Regions from separate parts of the Homo sapiens genome. Here all the other regions are linked to region 4. The links are contacts of gene promoters, found by promoter capture Hi-C in human tissues and cell types (Jung and others, 2019). All regions are on one chromosome and are shown on one strand. The core of a region is centred on a gene start or on the middle of the fragment in contact, and the rest is flanking DNA. Distances in the headings are between cores, read along the strand shown. Region 1 overlaps SHC3 (SHC adaptor protein 3). Region 2 overlaps LOC105376136 (a long non-coding RNA gene). Region 3 overlaps SHC3 (SHC adaptor protein 3). Region 4 holds the start of SHC3 (SHC adaptor protein 3).

Region 1 (5,266 bases), core at 130-2,629, 110 kb before region 4:
GTTTCGGTCTTCTGACCTCATGATCTGCCCGCCTCGGCCTCCCAAAGTGTTGGGATTACAGGCGTGAGCCACCACACCTGGCTGACAGCTGTGACTAGTAAATCTATGGCAGAAGTGAAGCTTAGCCCGGCCTTTCAGAGCACTGGACACATCTACTCTGGGTCTCATGGAACCTAGAGCTGCCATACAGAAAGCCCTACTTCCCAGAGGGATGAAGGGGCCACTTGGAGAGTCTCTGAGACTCCATGGAGAGGGCTGAGCCTCTAGTCATCCTTGCCAAGGTCCCAGGTGTGGAAGCAAAGCCAATTTGGACCTCCTAGACCAGCCCAGACTCTCTAGCTAAAGACCACTCGATGACCCCTGTCGATGCCACTTGGGCAGATGAACTGACCAGCTGACACTTGCTTGAATTCCTGACCCACATTCTATTATAATAAAATGGTTGTTGTTAAGCCACTAAGCTTGAAGTAGTTTGTTACAGGCAATAGATAGGTGGGAACACAGAGTGAGTATCTCCCACTAACTGTCTCAAACAAAGGGCCTGTCTTAATCAGCTGGGACTGCTGTAACAACACCACAGGCTGGGTGACTTCAACAACAGACATTTGTTTCTCACAGTTCTGGAGGCTGGAAGGTGCCAGCAGACTTGATGTCTACTGAGGGCCCTCTTCCTGGTTTGCAGACGGCGCTTTCTTGCTGTGTCCTCACATGGGTGGAAGAGGGTGAGGGAGCTCTCTGAGGTCTCTTTGACAAGAGCACCAAACCCATTCACAAGGCTTCCCCCTCATGACCTAATGACCTCCCAAAGACATCACCTTCAATTGGGGCCTTTAATTAATGCAATACCATCATATTGGGGGTTTCTATTTTAACATATAAATTTGGGGGTGACGTGAATATTCAGTCCATAAGAGGGCCCCTGTGTTGGTGGTGCCCTCAAGCACCAAAAATGGTGGAGATCTTTTTCTGCATCACAGGTCTGGCATTTGTCTTCACAGTATCACCACATGCAAACCTGAGAGAGCCTGGTGAGGCAGCCACGGGACATGTGGAATCGATCCTGATTCCCATGTCGCTGGACAGGAACTGTATTGTGGGCAGAAAGTACTCTTGGTTTGCCCCTGAGAAATGAAGTCAATGACTCGGGGCTAAACTCCTTCAGGATCTGGACCTAAGCCTTATTTCCTAGCTTTGGCGGTACCTTGGAATCATCTGAAGAGCTTTTAGAAAATTGTATTGTCTGGGCCCCACTCTCTGAGGCCTGAGCATTGAGGTTTTTTTAAGCTCCCCAGGCAGTGGCGTGGGGGATGATTCTCCATAAGGCCGCATCATGGATCAGTTCATCTCTTCCGTATGGGCTATCTTAAAAATATATCCAAGGTATAGCATTGGAGGGTAAGGTAGCAAAACAGAATATTAGGATCTCATTTGTATGAAAATGTTAAAAAGAGAGGGTATGTATACGGATAAGCATTATGCAAAGCAAACTAGAAAATCTTAGTTGGTACCTGGGGTAGGGGGGTAGTGAAAGGGAGTGCTGTTTTGTGCCGTTATTAATTCCATTTGTTATTTCATCAATGAGTTTTAAATTGCAGCTGTGGTGTGGTGCATCAATAGCTGCCTGGAACTCCAGGGTAGTGCACCTTGGTCAGTCCCAGCCACCCCAGGTATGCTACCATCCAATGGGCTTTGGTTTTATAAATGACTCCCCCCATCCAGCCTGTTCCTGAAGACTTAGAAGCTGAAAGGGATATAATCAGACAGCGCCTGAGCTCAGACACTAACCTCTAGGGCTGGCAGGGCAGAGTGAAGTAGCTAGGGGTGGCTTAGTGGGCACTGGGCACACACCAGGAGCTGAAGCTGGGCAGGAGGACAGGCAGCAGGTGGTCTTCCAGGAGTAACCGAGGCCACTGTCAGAATATGGGCAGGGGCTGTTTGTGTGTAAATCAATTGTACCAAACCAGCTATCTGGATACAAGCGTGTGTTTGGTGGTCAGAGAGGTCCGGTACCTCCTAACTCAGCCAAGCGATCTACAACCCTTGCAAACCTCATTCATCCTTAGTAATACAAGATGGCACTACTCATTTGTTGGGAGGGGGCTGAGATAACGAGGACCAGCTTGTATAGAATGTGAAGCCTGGCTGTACACAAACAAGAGATTAAAGGGGTCAAGCACCGCTTACCTCTGCGATTAACAGGGTCCTTAGCCACATATGCAACATAGTCAGTTGTGTCCTGTTAAAGAAAAAAGAGATGTCTATGTCACTAATCACAAGTGAGAGACCACACAGTCAGGGACACAGGGCACAAACCAGTGAGCTTAGAAGGACTCAACCACCAAACAGCTAAAGAATCAAATGCTGCCTAAGAAACAGCCCCCAGAAGATTCAAGCTATATAATGTGGGTAGCAACCACCCAGAGGTCTCACATTGCAGACTTTGACTCAGCAGGTCAGGGGTAGGGTCTGAGGTCCTGTACTTCTAACCAGCTCCCATGTATACTGAGGCTGCAGTGTCTCAGTATCCCACCGGAACTGGTTAGAAGTCCACTTACACTTTGAGCAGCAAGGAGAAAAGGCATGTTGGATCGCCTGAGAAGCTTTAAACACACTGATACCTGCGTCCCAACATGCAGATAATCCCATTTAATTGGTTTGGATGTGAGGCCTGTGCATTCGTTTTTAGATGCTCCCTAGATGACTGTAACGTGAACCACATGTTAAGAACCACTGCTCTCAGCTTTGTCTACACCAGTGGTTCTCCAATTTGAGCTGGTATCAGAATCCCCTGCAGGGCTTGTTAAAATAGAACGCTAAGCCATACCCCCGAGTTTCTAATTTGGTAGTAGTTCTGGGGTAAGGGCTCAAAATTTGCATTTCTGTCAAGTTTCTAGCTGCTGCTGCTCTGGGGGCCACACTTTGAGAACCACTAGGCTAGAAGAAAACCAGAGTGGATGTTCAAAGGCTGACTGCAAATGCTGCCTTCCTGGTGGATGAGATATAATGGTTATTTTCTTCTTGGACATAAATAATGATCTTAATACTTTAATATGTTTTAAAAATATGAGCTCTATTGAGAAGTCTCATCCTTCCATATGAAATGTGAGTTTCTTTGCCTGCCTTCTCATATAATCAGTGCATAGGGAAAATGATGACCTCAAAAGTAGACCACGGCAACCATATGCATTTTAATTCATAAACAAATAAGCAGAGAAACCAATAATTATCTTAACTCCTGAAAGCAGAAAAGACTCCTCTGCAAAGTTGGTATTTTCGGCATTCAAGACTCTGTGGGGCAACTGATAAAAGTCTACCTCATTTTGGCAGACATTTCCCATATGTCATTGCTTTGAAGGGCTTCCAGGTTATTGATACGCTCCCGATGTTGCCAGCACCTAAAAGGCTCTGTCGTGACTTGCTCCACTGTTTTCTCTATGGGCAAAGGAGACATCCCCTTCTCTCTCAACAGTGCCCTACAAAAGCTCTCCAAGGAGAGAGAGATGAGGGAGAGAATGAGTATGGGGTGGCCATGTCACTGTTGTGGGACATCTGCTGTAGGTTCAGGTGGGTGGTGCTGGGCACTTTTCCACACCCCATCCCGCTGGATCTTACACAGCCCAACAAGACCACACCAGTGTAGCATTCTTCCAGCAGCTCTTGAGACAATGGTGCTGCTTCCCCGGTCATTCTGCAGGGCGTGGCTCAGCTAAGCTGTTTTCTTTTCTGCTCAGGACACTGTTCCCTGGTGTATTCACAGGCTGACTAGGGAAAGGAAATGAAAGATCGTCCACCTGGTCAAACTGGCTTCTGGTCATTTCCATCAAGGAGGATCCAGTCAGAATCTGAAGTTATTGGCAAAAACAAGGATAACAGCTTGTAATCATAGGCACTTCCTGAACTCACAAGACGTGAATGTCAGAAGGATCCTTAGAGAGCATCTAAGATAGCACTAGATTTCAAGCTGAAATTCATAGAACCCTAGGGTTGGACAGGTGTCTTCTCCAGTGTTTGAGGTGGCACCAGCATTTTAAAAAATTTTTATTTTCATTTCCATGATTATCTTAAAATTAATATAAGAGTAACTGGGATCATTTAGGTGACCACTGTGTTATCAAGTTCTGCACACAATTTCAATGCCAGGATTTGCAGCTGGATTTCCAACATTATGATTGCTAGGTTTTCAAAGAATTAGAAAGAAAAGGACACAGGGTAGATTTCTCTGCCCACATAAAGCAAATTGACATTATACTTGTACATGATGTACAACTGAAGTTTCTGCTTGAATAGAAGAAATTAGTGGAAGAATTGAGTCATCCAGGTGCCCATGGTAATGAAGAGACATTGAACTTAAAAAATTCTGCCCCATGGTGGCCAGGCCAGCATCACATTCAGATGGAGATTTAGTTTCAGCGAACTTTGTCCATCATAGCAAAGTAATATTACATTGAATGTCATTGGCCTTACAATGTTTACTTGTATTTAACTTTCAAATTTAAGTAGGGGGAGAGTTAAATAAAAAGTATAAATAAAAGAAGTTTATTTTTAATTTGTTTTTGCACATATTCAGGTAACAAAATTAGAGTCAGCATTAGTAATGAATACAAGGAATATATTTTTTTACGTTCTTACTCTGGCTCAAAGTTGGGAAAGGAGGGAGAATAGAGAGACATAATATGTCCCTGTCTCTCAGATGGTCAATGGCCAAGCTTTTCTGATGCCAATATTGATCCTTTTCTGGCAGAGCAGGCAAATATATTACCATTCAAAACAATATTCTTGTCATCAGGAAGCACTAAGTTCCAAAGACAGAGCTGAGAAGTGCTGTTCTGCATCTATTCTATACCTGTTCCCACTCCCCAAGACCCCCTGTGCCTGGCCATTGTTCTGGCATTTTTGTGGTGGTCTTTTAACACTGCTAATTACAGTAGATTATAATCACAGCATGCCGTTTTTAGAGAGGAATTAATAAAGTTTTCTAGTCTATCTTGTTTGCTATTTCAAAATACCATTTTCCTACTGGGTAAACTGAGGCACTAAGCAATAAGTGACATGTACACTTAGCAGGAGAACAAGGACTAGAATATAGAATTGTCAGCTTTATTAAAAATGTCTACCAATTATAATGTGCTAAATTCATGGTTACAAATCAATTTGGAATGTAATCTCATGCACAATATAAAATGCATTTGGATTGGTTAAAATGGAAAGTAACTAGGCTTCCTGTCCTGTGTTATGACATTTTATAAACCAGAAAAAAGAAATCACA
Region 2 (5,394 bases), core at 1,550-4,049, 100 kb after region 4:
CGTGTCTCCTGCTCTGCTTTTCCTTACTGTCCCCTTCCCGTTATACAAATGTTAGGGCAAAGGCCACTCCTCAGTGGGGCCTTTTCTGGACACCTGCTCTGAACCAATGCCCACCCACCCACCCATCTGTTAATTGGTCACATCATCAGGCTTGGTTTTCTTCCCACCACTTATCTCCACCCAAAATCATCCTATTTGCTTACGTGTTGAATCTGACCCACCCAGTGGAAGGGAAGCTGGAAGCTCAGTGTGGACAAGCCCTGGTCTGTCTTACACACAGTGTTTTCCCCATAACAGGCTCCTGGTGTGAGTCACGGGGAAAGCTACAGATGCCCACAGGCAAAAGAATTGGGAGCCCTACACCCATCTACCCTCCAACCCCAGCTCTTATTTGAGTGTAGAGTGAAAAACTGGCTCATTTTGCCCGGGACTGTCACTGTTTTACCATTAAAAGCCACCATCCTAGGAAATCCTTTACCCTCAGACAAATCTAGAATGGCTGGTCACCTTATATGTTATCTAGAATTGCTTTCTGGGATGATTTTGAAAAATAAATGACTTTTTTAAAATATAAAAGCTTCCTCTGAATAACAAAATTTAATTTGCAGATTATCCTTTAGCATTCTATAAAAAATATTATTTATTTTAGCAGAGTTGACTTTTCTTGGCATATACATTTGTATTTGTCTTAGCACTTAAAATATATATGAAGCATATTGTAAAAAAAAAGAAAAAGGATCATATTGTATTCACAGGTAATGCTTTTAATTTTAAATGTCATTGAAGAAATAATCTGGTACAAACATGGCACACATGACTCATTGCTGGTAGGGTTAGAGACTTCCCACTTGAAGTCACTTTGATTCCTAAAATAAGTTTATTGATGTGTTTCTTTTACATTACATCTTCCTGATTTTAAAAAAATGTGTTATGTTTTCTTTTCTTTTTCTTATTTTTTTATTTTAAGACAGAGTCTCACTCTGTTGCTCAGGCTGGAGTGCAGTGGCATGATCATAGCTCACTGCAGCCTCAACCTCCTGAGCTCAAGTGATTGTCCCGCCTCAGCCTCCCAAGTTGCTGAGACTACAGGTGCATGCTACCATGCCTGGCTAATTTTTTTTTTAATTAGAGACAAGATTTCACCATGTTGCTCAGGCTGGTTTTGACCTTCTGAGTTCAAACTATCCTCTCACCTCAACCTCCTGAAGTGCTGGGATTATAGTCATGAGCCACGGCGCCCCAGACCTTATTTTCAAAAGATATATTTTTCTTCATTTCTCCTTGAACTTGGAGGGAACACTGCCTCAAAAGAAGTACATTAACAACATTGGCTAAACCTTCTAAGTCGTCTAAATTAGGAAAGGATCGGTTGGCCTTCAGGTTACATTTATTAGAATGACTCACTGAAGGGAACAAATATTTCAAAAGATAAAATGTAATTTTCAATTTAGTGAATTAAAATGCAACCACGTGTAATCTGAACTCACCCACATGATCAGTGTACAGAAGAGCTTTTGATCTGTATCATGTTGTTGAAAATTCATTAGAGGCCACGCAAGCATTTCTACTTGTTGGTTGTATCATCCTGTTGGCAGGAAGACAGCTAGCACTGAGGCCAAGGGCTGTGGAGGACAACAAGTAGTGACCAGGAATGCATATCATCCTATCTGCTGTTTCCAGTCCTCATTCTCACTTTTGTCAGGATTTCCATCTGTCCTCAGAAATCAGGAAGAACCAGCATCAGGGCAAAGAGTTCAGGGGCAGTATGCAAAGCTTTACTAGTTGACATGGACATTAATGTTGGAGAGGGAACCTGTGGATCTCCTCATTTCCCTTCTCGATCGCTGTTGACTATATTCCAAGGCTAACAAAAGGTTTGCAAGACAAAATCTTGAGGACAAACCTTAAGTCTGTTAAAGTCACAGTCATGACATTTCTCAAAGTGTGATCCAGTGAACATCCACAACCCGAAATCACATGGGGTGCTTATTAAGAATGCGGGTTTTCAGGTTCTGTTAAATCAGAATCCCTCGGGGGCGGTCCCCAGGAACCTGCATTTGTAACAAATCCTTTGGGTGGTTCTGGCACATACTAGGGTTGAGGCTTCATGATCGTTTGCTATGGTGTGAATGTGTCCGCCAAAATTCAGGAGTTGGAAAATTAATCCCAGTGCAGCAGTGTTGACGGGTGAAGCCTAAATGGGAGGTGCTTAGGTCATGAGGGCTCTGCCCTCATGAACAGATTAATGTGGTTCTAAAAAGGACTTGCAGAAGTGCGTTCTCTCTATTCTGCTCTTCTGCAATGTGAGGAGAGTTTTTGCCCTTTTGCCCTTCTATCTTCTGCCACGTGAGAACGCAGCAAGGCTCTCATCAGATGCTGGTGCCTTGATCTTGGATGCCCCAGCCTCCAGAACTGCAATAAATTTCTGTTCTTTATAGATTTCCCAGTGTCAGGTATTTTGTTATAGCAGTATGAAACAGGTCAAGACTTTCTCAATCTTTACAGCATAACTGATCAGGCGCAGTGGCTCACGCCTGTAATCCCAGTGAGAGGTGACAGTGTGCTGGCAGTCCTCACAGCCCTCTCTCGCTCTGGGCGCCTCTTCTGCCTGGGCTCCCACTTTGGCGGCACTTGAGGAGCACTTCAGCCCACTGCTGCACTGTGGGAGTCCCTTTCTGGGCTGGCCAAGGCCGGAGCCCGCTCCCTCAGCTTGCAGGGAGGTGTGGAGGGAGAGGCGCGGGTGGGAACTGGGGCTGCGCGCCACAGGCCAGCTGGAGTTCCGGGTGGGCGTGGTCTTGGCGGGCCCTGCACTCGCAGCTGCCGGCCGCCCCTGCCGGCCCTGGGCAATGAGGGGCTTAGCACCCGGGCCAGCGGCTGCGGAGGGTGTACTGCGTCCCCAGCAGTGCCAGCCCACCGGCGCTGCGCTCGATTTCTCACCGGGCCTTAGCTGCCTTCCCGCGGGGCAGGGCTCCGGACCTGCAGCCCGCCATGCCTGAGCCTCCCACCCCCTCCATGGGCTCCTGTGGGGCCCGAGTCTCCCCGATAAGTGCCGCCCCCTGCTCCACGGCACCCAGTCCCATCGACCACCCAAGGGCTGAGGAGAGCGGGCGCAGGGCGCAGGACTGGCAGGCAGCTTCACCTGCAGCCCCAGTGCGCGATCCAGTGGGTGAAGCCAGCTGGGTTGAGTCTGGTGGGGACGTGGCGAACCTTTTGTCTAGCTCAGGGATTGTAAATACACCAATCGGCACTCTGTACCTAGCTCAAGGTTTGTAAACACACCAATCAGCACCCTGTGTCTAGCTCAGGGTTTGTGAACGCACCAATCGACACTCTGTATCTAGCTACTCTGGTGGGGCCTTGGAGACCCTTTGTGTCCACACTCTATATCTAGCTAATCCGGTGGGGAGGTGGAGAACCTTTGTGTCTAGCTCAGGGATTGTAAACGCACCAATCAGTGCCCTGTCAAAACAGACCACTGGGCTCTACCAATCAGCAGGATGTGGGTGGGGCCAGATAAGAGAATAAAAGCAGGCTGCGGGAGCCAGCAGTAGCAAACCACTTGGGTCCCCTTCCACACTGTGGAAGCTTTGTTCTTTCGCTCTTTGCAATAAATCTTGCTACTGCTCACTCTTTGGGTCCACACTGCTTTTATGAGCTGTAACACTCACCGCCAAGGTCTGCAGCTTCACTCCTGAAGCCAGCGAGACCACGAGCCCACCGGGAGGAACGAACAACTCCAGACGTGCCGCCTTAAGAGCTGTTAACACTCACCTGGAAGGTCTGCAGCTTCACTCCTGAGCCAGCGAGACCACGAACCCACCAGAAGGAACAAACTCCGAACACATCCGAACATCAGAAGGAACAAACTCCAGACGTGCCACCTTAAGAGCTGTAACACTCACCACGAGGGTCCACAGCTTCATTCTTGAAGTCAGTGAGACCAAGAACCCACCAATTCCGGACACACCAGCAGTTTGGGAGGCCAAGGCAGGTGGACCACTTGACATCAGGAGTTTGAGACCAGCCTGGCCAATATAGCAAAACCCTGTCTCTACTAAAAGTACAAAAATTAGCTGGGTGTTGTGGCAGGCACCTGTAATCTCAGCTACTTGGGAAGCTGAGGCGGGAGAATCACTTGAACCCAGGAGGCAGAGGTTGCAGTGAGCTGAGATTGCGCTGCTGCACTCCAGCCTGGACAAAGAGTGAGACTCCATCACATACATACACACACACACACACACACACACACACACACACACACACAGGGCGTAACTAACTCTCAGACTCCCTCTCCCCAGCTAAAGACATCTAGGCAAATTTTCATCCTGGTAGCACCCATGGGGAACTCCCTTCTCAACCTCCTTTTCCATGGAAAAATATCCATGAGCCCTGAGGATTTGAAATTCAGTTCATACAAAAGCGCCTTCCTCACCTCATCTCGTGGGAAAAAAAACCTGTCTCCCGAGTAAACATTTCATATAAAATAGTACTCAAGTCACTCCTCTCCAAAAACTTCACCTGGCCTCTTGCTTTCACATGGACATTAAGAGGCTAGGCCTCAAGTCTGCCTTTTCCTTGAGCCTGCTTTTCTCTGACGCAGAAGGGGCCACTTGGCAGGTCTGGCAATCCCACGTTCCGAGACTGGAGCTCTACAAGCGGGACTTGGAGCTGCCTGTGGCTCTGTTATTCCTTACTCCTTGGTGATACTCTTCACTTTGGTAATATTTTAGTAGGTATTGTTAGAAAGTAAACCTTCATTGAATTCTCAGAAAGAGTAAACCACTAAAGCATAATGAAGTAAACTGACAGTAACTAATTTATTATGTGTAACTACAGCACAGAATAATGCTACATAAGTTGGAATATAACAGTGGAGTTTAAAATGGATTTGGATTAAAAAGCACTAAGGACAAATAAAATTTAAAAGAGCAAATAAATTTACATATTTGAAATACGTAATTTAAGTATTGTTTTTATAAATAGTTTCTACTTTATCATTTCACTGGTTGCCAGAATCATGTTTTAGACCAGCTAATTTTCAAATATCTCTGAAGACTACAGCTGGGACCTGAAAAGCATGAACAAGTTTAAGTGGAAAACAGCCAACATTTCCTGGAATAGAAGAGATGACCCTAGGCTGAAATCGAAGGCTTCCCACCTGTGTCCACGACACTCAGAAAAGTGATTTCCCATTGCCACTACCTGGGAAAAGGGCATTGCCTTCAAGAGCCACTCCAAGGAGGTTGCCAGTTCTAGAGAAGCTTGAGATACAAGTTCTAGCAATACTCTGCTCTGCTGGAAAATTCTAGTGTTGCAAATCTCAACAAATCAGCATGCTGGCAGAAATTTAGAGTAAAAGGTATCTGGATAGTGAGAATAAATAACATAAAATTA
Region 3 (5,309 bases), core at 2,393-4,892, 88 kb before region 4:
TGTATGCCAGCAAACAGGACAAAGACCAAATGCATATTTCACAGTACACAGTATCCATATCAAAGCTGCTTGTGCATGTTATCTTTCAGTCGTTGGGGGCACATGCACTGATCCTAAGATATATCTTATATGCAAATAAATATATACACATATATACAATAAATATATACACATACATACGTGGCCCATGGGGTGATTGCACGTCCTCCTCACTACCGTGGGTTCCACCATGCATGCGCACACCCATCCGCCCACATGACACATATATGTGCATCAAGGGACTCCAGATGTCCTTGGCTATGAGGCACAAACCCTCAGGAAGTCCACAGGAGAACTGGAATTAAAGCTAATTTTCCTATTTTCCAATCAAGGAAACTGATGGCAACAAAGTCAAACACATAATAGTAAACATCGTCAATCAGAAAATACCAGAAGTTCTTTCATCCAAGTAGCCTAACTTATGTTTCCCTGATCCCTAGGGTGAAGATCACCTTGCCATAGCATAATTTCTCCAACACTGGCCCCTACATTAGGAGAAACTAATGTGGAAATACTCTGTGAGACTAACCACAGCAAATCAGAACGAATCAGAACTTTCCCCTCCCCTCACCAAGCAGTGCTTAGAGGAAAACAGAAGTGTGATGGCCTCCCCCTGCTCTTGGGGTGCCTGCAGGGGGACGAGGTCCACCACAGAGCCCAGGCAATCAGTGTGGGAGGGAGAGCCAGGGGATCCCACATGCCTGCTTCTTGTGGTGGTCCACTTTGCTCATTCAAAAATTTCCTCCCTTGTTGACATTTTGTTTTAGGCATTTATAAGGCAATGACAGATTACTATTATTATATACTAATTCTAGATGATATAAACCAAAAATAAAATTCTAAGCCCACCAACCAACTGAACTGACCTCTCCTCTTAGCCAAGAGGATTCCAAAGTAAACGTGAAAAACTAGTTCAGGTCCTGATGGGAAGAGGGGGTCAGACATGCTTCATTATACACTCCTCCCTTAGAATTCAGGCAAGGCAGACCAGCATTAAGATGAGAACAGAGACCTTAAGATTGATAGATCAGACTCTTTGTAGCAATAAGATACCAACATGACAGATAGTAGGCCCTGAAGGAAATGAAAGTATTTTACCTCAAATTACATTTCTAGGACATATTTTGAAATGGCCCTGCAAAGCTGTCTCTTGTGGGGAAAATCTACACTCTGTAGAAAATCCCCTTCTCTTTCCAGGTCTTTTCCTGACCCAGGAGAGATTTAATTATGATTCTGGCACCTTTTAGGGTTGGTTAAGAGACCTTTACTATCCATTTTCTCTGAAGCCTGCTACCTGGAAGCTTCATCTACATACTAAGAACCTTGGTTTCCACAACCCCTTATCTTAACCCCGACACTCCTTTCATTTGATTCCAGGTCTTTAGATAATAACTCTTTCAACCAATTGCCAATCAGGAAAATCTTTCAAGCCACCTATGGTCTAGAAGCTTCAAGTTGTCCTGCCTTTCTGGACTGAACCAATGTACACCTTACTTGTATTGATTGATGTTTGCCTGTAACTTCTATTCCCCTAAAATGTATAAAATCAAGCTAAAACCCAATGACCTTGAACACATATTCTCAGGACCTCTTGAAACTGTGTCTCCAGCCTTGGTCACTCATATTTGGCTCAGGAAAAAAACCTCTTCAAATGTTTTACAGAGTTTGACTGTTTTTGTCAAAAAGATGAAAAACACAGAATACAAGAAATCAACATAAAGCCTTTAGAAATAAAAACTCCATGGACATAATGGGTCTGTTGTTTTTAAAAACATCTTTAATATCAGGGAAAGAGGTACAATGCAATCAGTAGAAAGGTCACCAGAAAAGAGGAAGGAGGAACAACGAGCTGTGGGGAAATGCTGATGGGACAACCAGAGGGAGAGGGGCCTGCACGGAGAGCAGGCAGAGGAGGGTACAGGGGAGAGGTATACGGTCATTACCACGACAAAGGGATGGAAACAGAGAGCACAGAATTTCCAGCAGGCAGGATGCATCCACAGCACCCAGGGGAGAACCCAGCAGAGGCCGTGAGAAAAGCCTGGGCACCGCGGAAGCAGCAGGAACCATTCTGGGTGAGACCACACCTGCAAGGCAAGAGAGAAGATGCTGGTTTATTCTTCACAAACTGTGAACGGTGTTCCTCATCTGCAAAGCTTCCTGCTGGAGGGGCACTTCCTGCAAGTATTTATTTAGACGGTGCTATCGACTCGGTGGCACTGTTCTGTGGCAGAATCTGCCTTCGAGAGGTATTTCCCCTTTCTGATCACCGCACAGAGCCTGTCCATTCCAGGGCAGTTCTACTGGATGATGCACCAGAAGCTGGCTGTCCCATCTTAGTCCTTATCTCTGACCTCTTTCTATCAATATTTGTGTATTTCTATGTGCATGTGAAAAGAAGCCCCACTGATAGAATTGGAGGAAGAGAGAAAGAAAGAGGAAACCTTAGAAAGGACCTGAGTGAGACAGAATAAAATTTCTAGGAAGTATATCTTGGAGGTGCCATGTGCAACGCTGATCTTGGAGTTAGGTGCCATGTGCAACGCTGATCTTGGAGCCTGGGGGGTGGAGCAGGAGGGAACTGGGACCTGGGGCAGAGTGTCCAGCTTTTTGAGAACCAGCTCCAGACCTTAAAGCTCACACACCACCAGAAGCCAGCACTGCCCTTAGGCAAGGGGGCAGCTGCTGGGTTTTATGCCCCCCGACACACTGAACCACCATACCTAAGACAAAGGAGTGATCCTTCCCATTTGGGAAAAGTAAACCAAAATTAAAGGAAATAAACTCAGAGGAGGGTCTTAACTCTTCCCAGAATCACACAATATTGGTGGAGTCAAAATCTGAATTGAGCTCTTCCAGGCTTCAGAGCCACTTTTTCCCAGGTCCCAAGTCTTCTTGGGGGCATGAGGATGGGGAGGGGTCAGAGCCCACAGGAGCCCCTGACTGCTTTGACTTCAGCAGTCCACACAGCGACCCAGGAGGTCACACCACAGCCAGCACCTTCTTGGAGTGAGGAGTAGGAAGCCCCCAAGGGCCACGGCTCAGGCAAGGCAGAGTGCGTCACCCAGAGGCCTGCCGGGCAGGGCCGCCAGCTCTAGAGGAAAAACACTAAACTAAACTTACCTGCCCTGCCTTTAAAAACCACCCATGCACATCCTCAGGCCCACGAGCAAACACACGGAGCCCTGAGCGCCAGCATGGATAAATCACGGTCAGCGAGGCCCTGCAGACAGCATCTCATTTGATTTCTATGACAGTAGGAGATGTGGATGTTGCCCTTACTCCAAGGTGGAGATAAAATATATCTCCACCCACATATTATATATAAAATTTTATCTCCACCCATTTCTCTCTCCTCCAGAGGCAAAGAGAGTCCAGGACATTGGCCAAGACCACAAAGCTCTTGAACTGGGCTCTCTGTGACATGAGAACATGAGACTAGATGCATGCAGTGGAGAGAAGTGACAAAGATTATCCAGCCAAAGATCATGCCACCTGATGTGCCAACGGCTTTGGAGAAAGGCAAGACCATGGCCTCCCAGTGTAAGGTTATGGTTGGGAAGTAATTCTGCACCTGAATGCAAGCTGACTGCCACCCCACTAGTTTTGGCCGGCTGCTCTGTTAAGTAGAATGCTGAGGTCAGTGTGATCAATAACTGCCACTTTGCTGTCACTCCAGGGGATTGGTGGGTATGGGAGGCTTCCCCCAGGAGGTGAGGCTGCACAGGGCCTTGGAGGCTGAGGAGGTTTGAGAGAGGAGAGTGTGAGCTGAGCACACAGAAATGATGAAGAGAGAGGTCAGTTGAGCCCATGCGGATTGGGGGTGCACCAGGGTGCAGCCACAGAGAAAGGGGAGTGAGTGGCCTGCAGAAGGACCCACAACAGGGAACCCAAGAAAACAGGCAAGAAATCAACATGGGTGGTATCATGAATGCCAGGTGAGAGGACTTTCCTAAAGATTTAAGTAGTGAAAACTACAAGGAAATGAATATCAGGGTTTGCTGATGCAGAGCGAAATGAGGAAGAATCTTTTCCCTCTAATAGAAATGGAAATGACGGGGTGGGGTGGGGATCCCCCAGGCACATCTAGGACAAAACTGTGCAAGACATGGCATAACAAGTCAGATATAGCCTGCGTGAAGAAAAGCATAGCATGGTATTGGGGGACATAAAGCAAGATCTGAACACATGAAAACTCATGCTATGTTCCCAGAGATAAGGATGAAACATTATTATGAAGTAAATTCTCCCTAAATTAATTTATCAATTTAATTGAATTATAATTGTCATCCTAATTGATATCTTTTTGCACTGAACAATATGTTAGAGTGCATAAGAAATTTCAAAAATTGTGAAGAAAAATTTTAAAACAACAAGGAAGAATAGCAAGGAGAAATATGTTCTGCCAGATGAAAAACATGACTATAACACAACCAAAATCAGAACCAGAAGTTAATGGCACACAAACAAATGCATCAGCAGAAAACAAATGTTACCAGTGGACTGAAATTAGGTGTTCAGAAACAGAGTGTGTGGTAATTTAACATACAGTCCAATGGCATTTCAACACAGTGGGGAGATTTGGGCCTAACTGGCTATCTTATTACAGGTAAACTAAAAATCCATACATACAAAGTAAAATAAATGAAAATATTAGAAGATTAGTTTGATCTACAGTGAAGGAGATTGTCAAGACAGGAAAACTACAAGCCATAAAGGAATGGCTGATGGATGCACTCTAATAAAACATTTTTTAATATAAAATTTACCATTTTAACCATTTTTAAGTGTGCAGTTCAGTGGCATTAAGTACATTCACATTGTTGTGCAACCATTACCATTATCTGTTTCTAGAACTTTTTCATCTTCCCCAACTGAACTCTGTACCCATTAAATAATAATTCCACATAACTCCCCACTGCCTCATCTGGCCAGCCCCTGGAGACCTCTATTCTACTTTCTATCTTCATGAATTCAGCTACTGTCTAATAAACATTTTTTAAATGATATGGCAAGATATTACCAGCACATACAAAATATGCAAAAACTCCCACAAATTGATAAGAAAGTAAAGAGACTCCAATAAAAAAAATGGGTAAGTGAAGTGAACAGGTAATTCATAAGAAAGAAAATGAAACCAGACAGCACATGGATGTGAAAAAGTGTTCACATTTCTGTATGCAAAAACACTCAAAGGAAAACAATAGCAACTATTGTTTTGATGATAAAACTGGTTGATAGCAATATTAGCACTCAGTGCTGCATAGTTG
Region 4 (5,123 bases), core at 1,540-4,039:
TTTATGTTCACATCACAGCACCATTCATGGCTGCTAATGAACAAGGAACCAAAACATGGATGGTACAGAGCCCTAATTAGTCATGCCATGCACCCCTCAACCCATCACTGCAACCCCTTAAATTTGAGGCAACACAAAGTAACCCCAAGACACAGACAAGCTCTGTGCAGATCCAGCCCTTTGACTATGAATACTACTGCTGATGCTGCCAGTAAGTCACAAACCTTACAGCAACAGATTGTCGACGCAGAGCCGTCTTATTTTCGTACATTCATCATTATTTTGCCACATTTGACCTTTCAAACTTGATGCTGGCCTTCCTTCTTTAAAAAGCAAAAGCAAAGTTCTAAGCAAAGTGATTAAAACAAAAATTTAAAGCCATAAGTTTGAGAATTCTCCCTCAATTTGAAAACTACTCTGTTTAATATGACAGGTAGAAAAAGCTTTGCCAAGGTCTATTTGTCTATTTGAAATGTAGGCTTTTTAAAACAGCAATTATGCTAACACCCCAGAAGTAAACACAACCTCAAAGCTGTCAGGGATTTTTGGTTTGGTTTGTTTTTTTCTTTTTGTTTTGGCCCCTGGTTATATAATTTAAATAAGCAAAACAAGAAGAATATTCAGTACCTCTTAAAATAAACTCAACCAAATATGCATATATTATGCTCATCTATACCCCTTTGGTAAAATATAATAATCCATAGTTTGAAGGTTAAATTAAAAAGCAGACTGAAAAGGTGAAGAAGCCCTCTTTTAACAACAATGGCCACATTCATCTGTAAGTACTTTTTATATAGTTAAAGGCAATCCACAAAGTTAAGTATTTCTGTTAATATTTTGGTTCCGAAATTACCAGACACTGCATTTTACCTGAGGATGTGTTCTATTTAATTTTTACACTGGAATCTGCAGCCAATATTTACGGAACAGACATCCTGGGGGTTTCTCAGTGTTATTGAGGACACGGTGGGGATAGAGTTTGTGTCTCATTTCTTTCTCAATACAAAGCCATGCCTTGGAGTGGCAGGATTGAAATACTGCAACTTCCATCCTTAACCCCTGTCTGCTCGGCTGTGGAGGCTGTTAAAGCTCTGAGCTGCCCAACCGGCAGAAGGAAATAACCGCGTGGCAGATTACTTGAACTGTGCTGAGCATTTTTCCTTAAATATCATAACATGCTTGCATAAGGGTGGAATTTTATTGACTACATCGTGATTTTATCATCTTTGTGTTGGAGGAAAAAACTCCTTTCCAGCCTGTGGCTCCAAGCGCAGCGCCCTAGTTCCCTTTTAGCACATTTAAATGGAAGACTACAGTCACCAGAAAAATAGTCCCAGAATTCTCATTCCGCTGCTGTAAACCAGAACCTTTCCTTAGGGAATGAAAGACAAACCCCAAGAAAACCTGGACTGGGTGAGAAAGTAAAGCCCGTCGAAGAGAAAGCAGCACAGCATTTGGCCTGCTCTGCAAGGAGCTGGGAATTCTTGCTGCGGGGGGCAACAAGATACCCACCCTCCCGCCGGGGAAGACACAGCAGGAGTAGGGCCGCCACTCCGTGCATCTCTCCTCCCGGGGGCTGCCCAGCTCTCCCCAGCGCGTTTCCTAGATACTAGGCAGGCCGGACCCCCGCTGCCCAGGGTTGGGCGCCCATGACACTGGTCAGACATCTGGTAAGCCAGGTGGCAAAGGCGTGCCAAAAAAGTGGAGCCTAGGGAAAACCGGGACGGAGCGGGCCACCCGAGTGGTAAACCTTTTCCCAATGGATGCGGGAAAAGCGCATTTGTAGTTCCCTCCTCACCGCTGTCAAGCGAGCTGATTGCTAAGGAGTGCGCATTTGCTTGCCTCTAACGTGACAGTCGCGGGAGCGCCCCGCACCCCGGGCTTCAGGGAATGAAGGAGTCTGCCCCGAACTGGCCCCAGAACCCCCAGCCCCCAGGGCGGCCCGCGCCCGCACCCACCTTGACCACGTAGGTGACTCCGGGCCCCAGCACCTGGTCGCTGGCGTGCGGCGCCCCCCGAGGGGGCCTGGGCAGCGGCTCGTCGCCGGGCCGGCCCTTCCTGGCGGCGCTCATGGCCGGGGCGCGGGGCGCCGAGGGCGCACTGCCGTCCGGGGCGGCCAGGCTGGGCGCGCTGCAGCTGCCCGAGAGCCGCGCGCCCGCCCGCTCCCGGGCGGCCGACGACAGGCCGCGGAGGCCCGAGCTGGAGAGTTTCAGGTGGGACACCTTGTGGAGCAGGTGGCCCAGGCTGCCGGGCCCATCGTCGGGCGCCTTGCGCAGCGCCTCGCCGGACACCAAGTAGGGAGCCGCCGCCGGGGTCGCGCGCGCCGCCGAAACCTTGCCTCCGCCGCCGCTCACCGACAGGCTGTGGAGAAGGTCATCGACCGATGTCACCGAGTCATTCCTGAAGCGGTTATACTTGGTGCGTGGAAGCATGCCCCTCCGTGGGCTCGCTGCATCCGCCCGGGCGCTGCTGGTGCCGGCCCCGGCGCGGGCTGCCGCGCATAGCAGGCGAGCCACTGTCCCCGGAGCGGGACGGAGAGTGGGGGCCCCGGGACAGCCTTCTGGAGAACGAGAGCAGAGCAAGAGGATGGTGCCCTCCCACCGTTAAAAGCCAGCACAGCGGCGGCCGCGCAGCCCCGGCCCGGGAGACCGCTGCTTGGGGTTGCACGTTTGCTTTGCAAAAGTCATAGTTGCCTCTGATGGAGCGCCCAGCTGCTTGGGGCTGCTCACAGCAAAAGCATGACTCACTCTGAGAGGAGACCCTTCTCAACAAAGGCTCGGTGAGCACTGCAAATCACTTCCTGTAGCAGAAGAAAAAAAAGGAAAAAAAGAAGAAAAAAACGACATCCACCCGCTGACAGCACACTATAGCCAATCAATTCTCAAATTTCCTTTTTCTACCTTCCCAGATATTTCCTTCCAACCTTTGATTTTTCACCTTCCCATCCCCCGCAATCTGCATTTGTGCCAAAGGTAAATCCAATCCAGTTCCTTCAAATCGTCAAATGAACTTTCTGAAACCCATTATTCTGTTAGGTTTTGCTCGTCCCTGCTCAGCCCATCTGTGTGAGCCTGTAAAAGTGTCTAACAGCGATGCGTTAAAATGTGACGAAGGCTTTTTAAGAATCAGATCTTCAGCGAATCCTGATGAATCTTGACTTGGAAGGCAGCAGGAATTTTTAAATAGAAAAAAACAAAAAGGATATTCACCCCCAGGTGACTGTAAAATACCAATTTCCTGGGTTTTGCTTTTTCTTTTCAAATTAACAGAGCAGCGATGACAAGTGTCTTTGTGGCAATGCAGTTCCTCAAAAAAAAAAAAAAAAAAAAATCTGCATATGAACTTCTGCACAGTGCCAATCAAGGGGTCTTCCCTGCTCATTTACAGCAGTCTTTCTCAGCCAGGGTTAAGTTGAATATCCACTTCCAAAAAAGAAGAGTGCTTCTTTCACGAGTGGCAACAGGCTCCAGAAATCCATTCCAAAAAAGGGGCTGCATTTGAAGCTTTAATCCTACTGAATGTGTTTAAGCTCTGGAAAAACGCCTAAGAAATGCTACAAATACATTTCAATGTTCCTTCAGTTGCTGCTTGCAACCCTGCAGTCAGGAAGGAAAAAATGCAGCTGTTCTTATTGCACATCAAATCCACAAGGAGGAAAATATGCCTTCTTTTCAGGAGTCAGGCTCGGGCTTGCAAGTAAAATGCACAGGCCTTCTTCCTCTCAGTTAGGAGAGCAAGGCTTTCGCTGTCCCCAGAGGTCTGCCCGAGACTGAAGCCCTCTGACTCTTGACCTCAGTGGGCTCTGCCAGGCTTCCTCATGCATTAGGATCACCTGCTCCACAGTGAAACACTCACTATCAAAGTTTTCCCGCAACTTCTGAGCAAGCGAATAAATTCAGCTCTAGCACACTCTCAGGTCACCCTGAGTCCTCTCACTCCCATGACCGAACATGTGGGGCACGTGAGGTCCTGAGTCTTGAACCCTGCTCTATGGAGCAGAGTTTAATGAGCGCCACTCATGGCGGGCGAGCGGGTGAGGCCAACCCCTAGGACGCAAGAGCGCAGAGGAGCCGCGGCGTCCCCGGTACAGGAAACGCGTCCCCACGGCTCGCCTCCTGTGCCGCAGCCCTAGCAGAACAGCTACACGGCACTCATTTGTTCCCTTTCCCTAGCTTGCATAGCAACAGCAATTGCACACCCCATAGATGATTTTGATGGTTATCAGAGTCCTCCCCAGATCTGTAGCGAAACAGCCCTATCATTCCCAAAGCGAGATCTTCATTAGATGCAGACAAAAACCGCAAAATGTGAATGAAATGCTGTTTGTGTGAATGAAAAGGCTAGCGAGCGAGCCAGCGTTTCTGTGAATGAAGCAGGGCCTTGCAGCCGGTGCCAGGCAATCCCCTGGGCTCCAGCGGCCTCAGCCAATGAGCGGCCGCCCCGATGACTCATTCAACAAAGGCTTGCTCAATAGTGGAAGATTCCATTTCAATCAAAGGCGGGATCTTTTATCCAACGGCAGTGTGGGAAAAAAAAAAAGAAAAAGAAAAAAAAACACCCAGCCGGATTACAAAGATACCGGGAGGAAGAGGCCAGCTGCTATGGAGAGGAAAAGCTAGTTTTACAAGGGAATTCAAGATCCCTTGGTCAGGTCTAAGTGTGAAGAGGGTCTCTCTTGGAGGTGAGCTGTGCCCCTAAACTTTCATTCAGCCGTTCATTTACATCAAGGAGCAACCATGAATGTGCCAGTCGTTCAGCTTTTATTATGAATGTACATTGAATGCACGTTCAAAACCTAGGTTCCTAGCCCTTGATTCTTTTTTTGTAAAAGGCATGTAGGACACCTGTACACGTTCTGAGGCTCCAGGGAGGAAAAAAAATCCAAAGCTATGTACTTAACGTTTAGCCAACAGGAGACTTTTATTTCTTTTATTATGAGGCCAGTGGAGGGAAATTGGTCATTTTAAAATATAAATAGCAACATAAATTTACTATATATGAAAAGATATATAATCAAAGACAGAAATTAATATTCCAAGAACACAGTAGTACGGTAAAACCTCACTTACCTGGAAAATAGTATCAACATTTTGGAACGTAGCAGAAAGATGGAAAAAGAAAAA

Evidence for each region. The method cuts DNA at HindIII sites, captures the fragments that hold promoters and counts their contacts. A contact is called where the count stands out against the background at its distance.
Region 1: a contact is called between a fragment that was not itself captured here and the fragment with the promoter of SHC3 in region 4, in 2 of the 25 tissues and cell types used here (IMR-90 fibroblasts and bladder).
Region 2: a fragment that was not itself captured here is called in contact with the fragment with the promoter of SHC3 in region 4 in 2 of the 25 tissues and cell types used here (hippocampus and mesendoderm cells).
Region 3: a fragment that was not itself captured here is called in contact with the fragment with the promoter of SHC3 in region 4 in 2 of the 25 tissues and cell types used here (dorsolateral prefrontal cortex and hippocampus).

Annotation. Positions count from the first base shown.
Region 1 is chr9:89,063,345-89,068,610 of GRCh38, forward strand. It overlaps SHC3 (SHC adaptor protein 3), which reads right to left. Exons shown (of 12, transcript NM_016848.6): 6 at 2,185-2,236. Among named protein-coding and RNA genes, the nearest start is that of S1PR3, 75 kb to the left of the region's middle. The HindIII fragment of the contact is 4,548 bases long and covers 1-3,653 here.
Region 2 is chr9:89,279,704-89,285,097 of GRCh38, forward strand. LOC105376136 (a long non-coding RNA gene) reads right to left here. Exons shown (of 3, transcript XR_930101.4): 3 at 744-5,394. Among named protein-coding and RNA genes, the nearest start is that of CKS2, 29 kb to the right of the region's middle. RefSeq lists an enhancer at 2,348-2,866. The HindIII fragment of the contact is 3,248 bases long and covers 1,176-4,423 here.
Region 3 is chr9:89,086,810-89,092,118 of GRCh38, forward strand. All of the region lies in intron 2 of SHC3 (SHC adaptor protein 3), which reads right to left. Among named protein-coding and RNA genes, the nearest start is that of SHC3, 89 kb to the right of the region's middle. The HindIII fragment of the contact is 7,637 bases long and covers 1-5,309 here.
Region 4 is chr9:89,176,029-89,181,151 of GRCh38, forward strand. It overlaps SHC3 (SHC adaptor protein 3), which reads right to left and starts at 2,790. Exons shown (of 12, transcript NM_016848.6): 1 at 1,959-2,790. The coding sequence starts at 2,432. The HindIII fragment of the contact is 9,677 bases long and covers 1-5,123 here.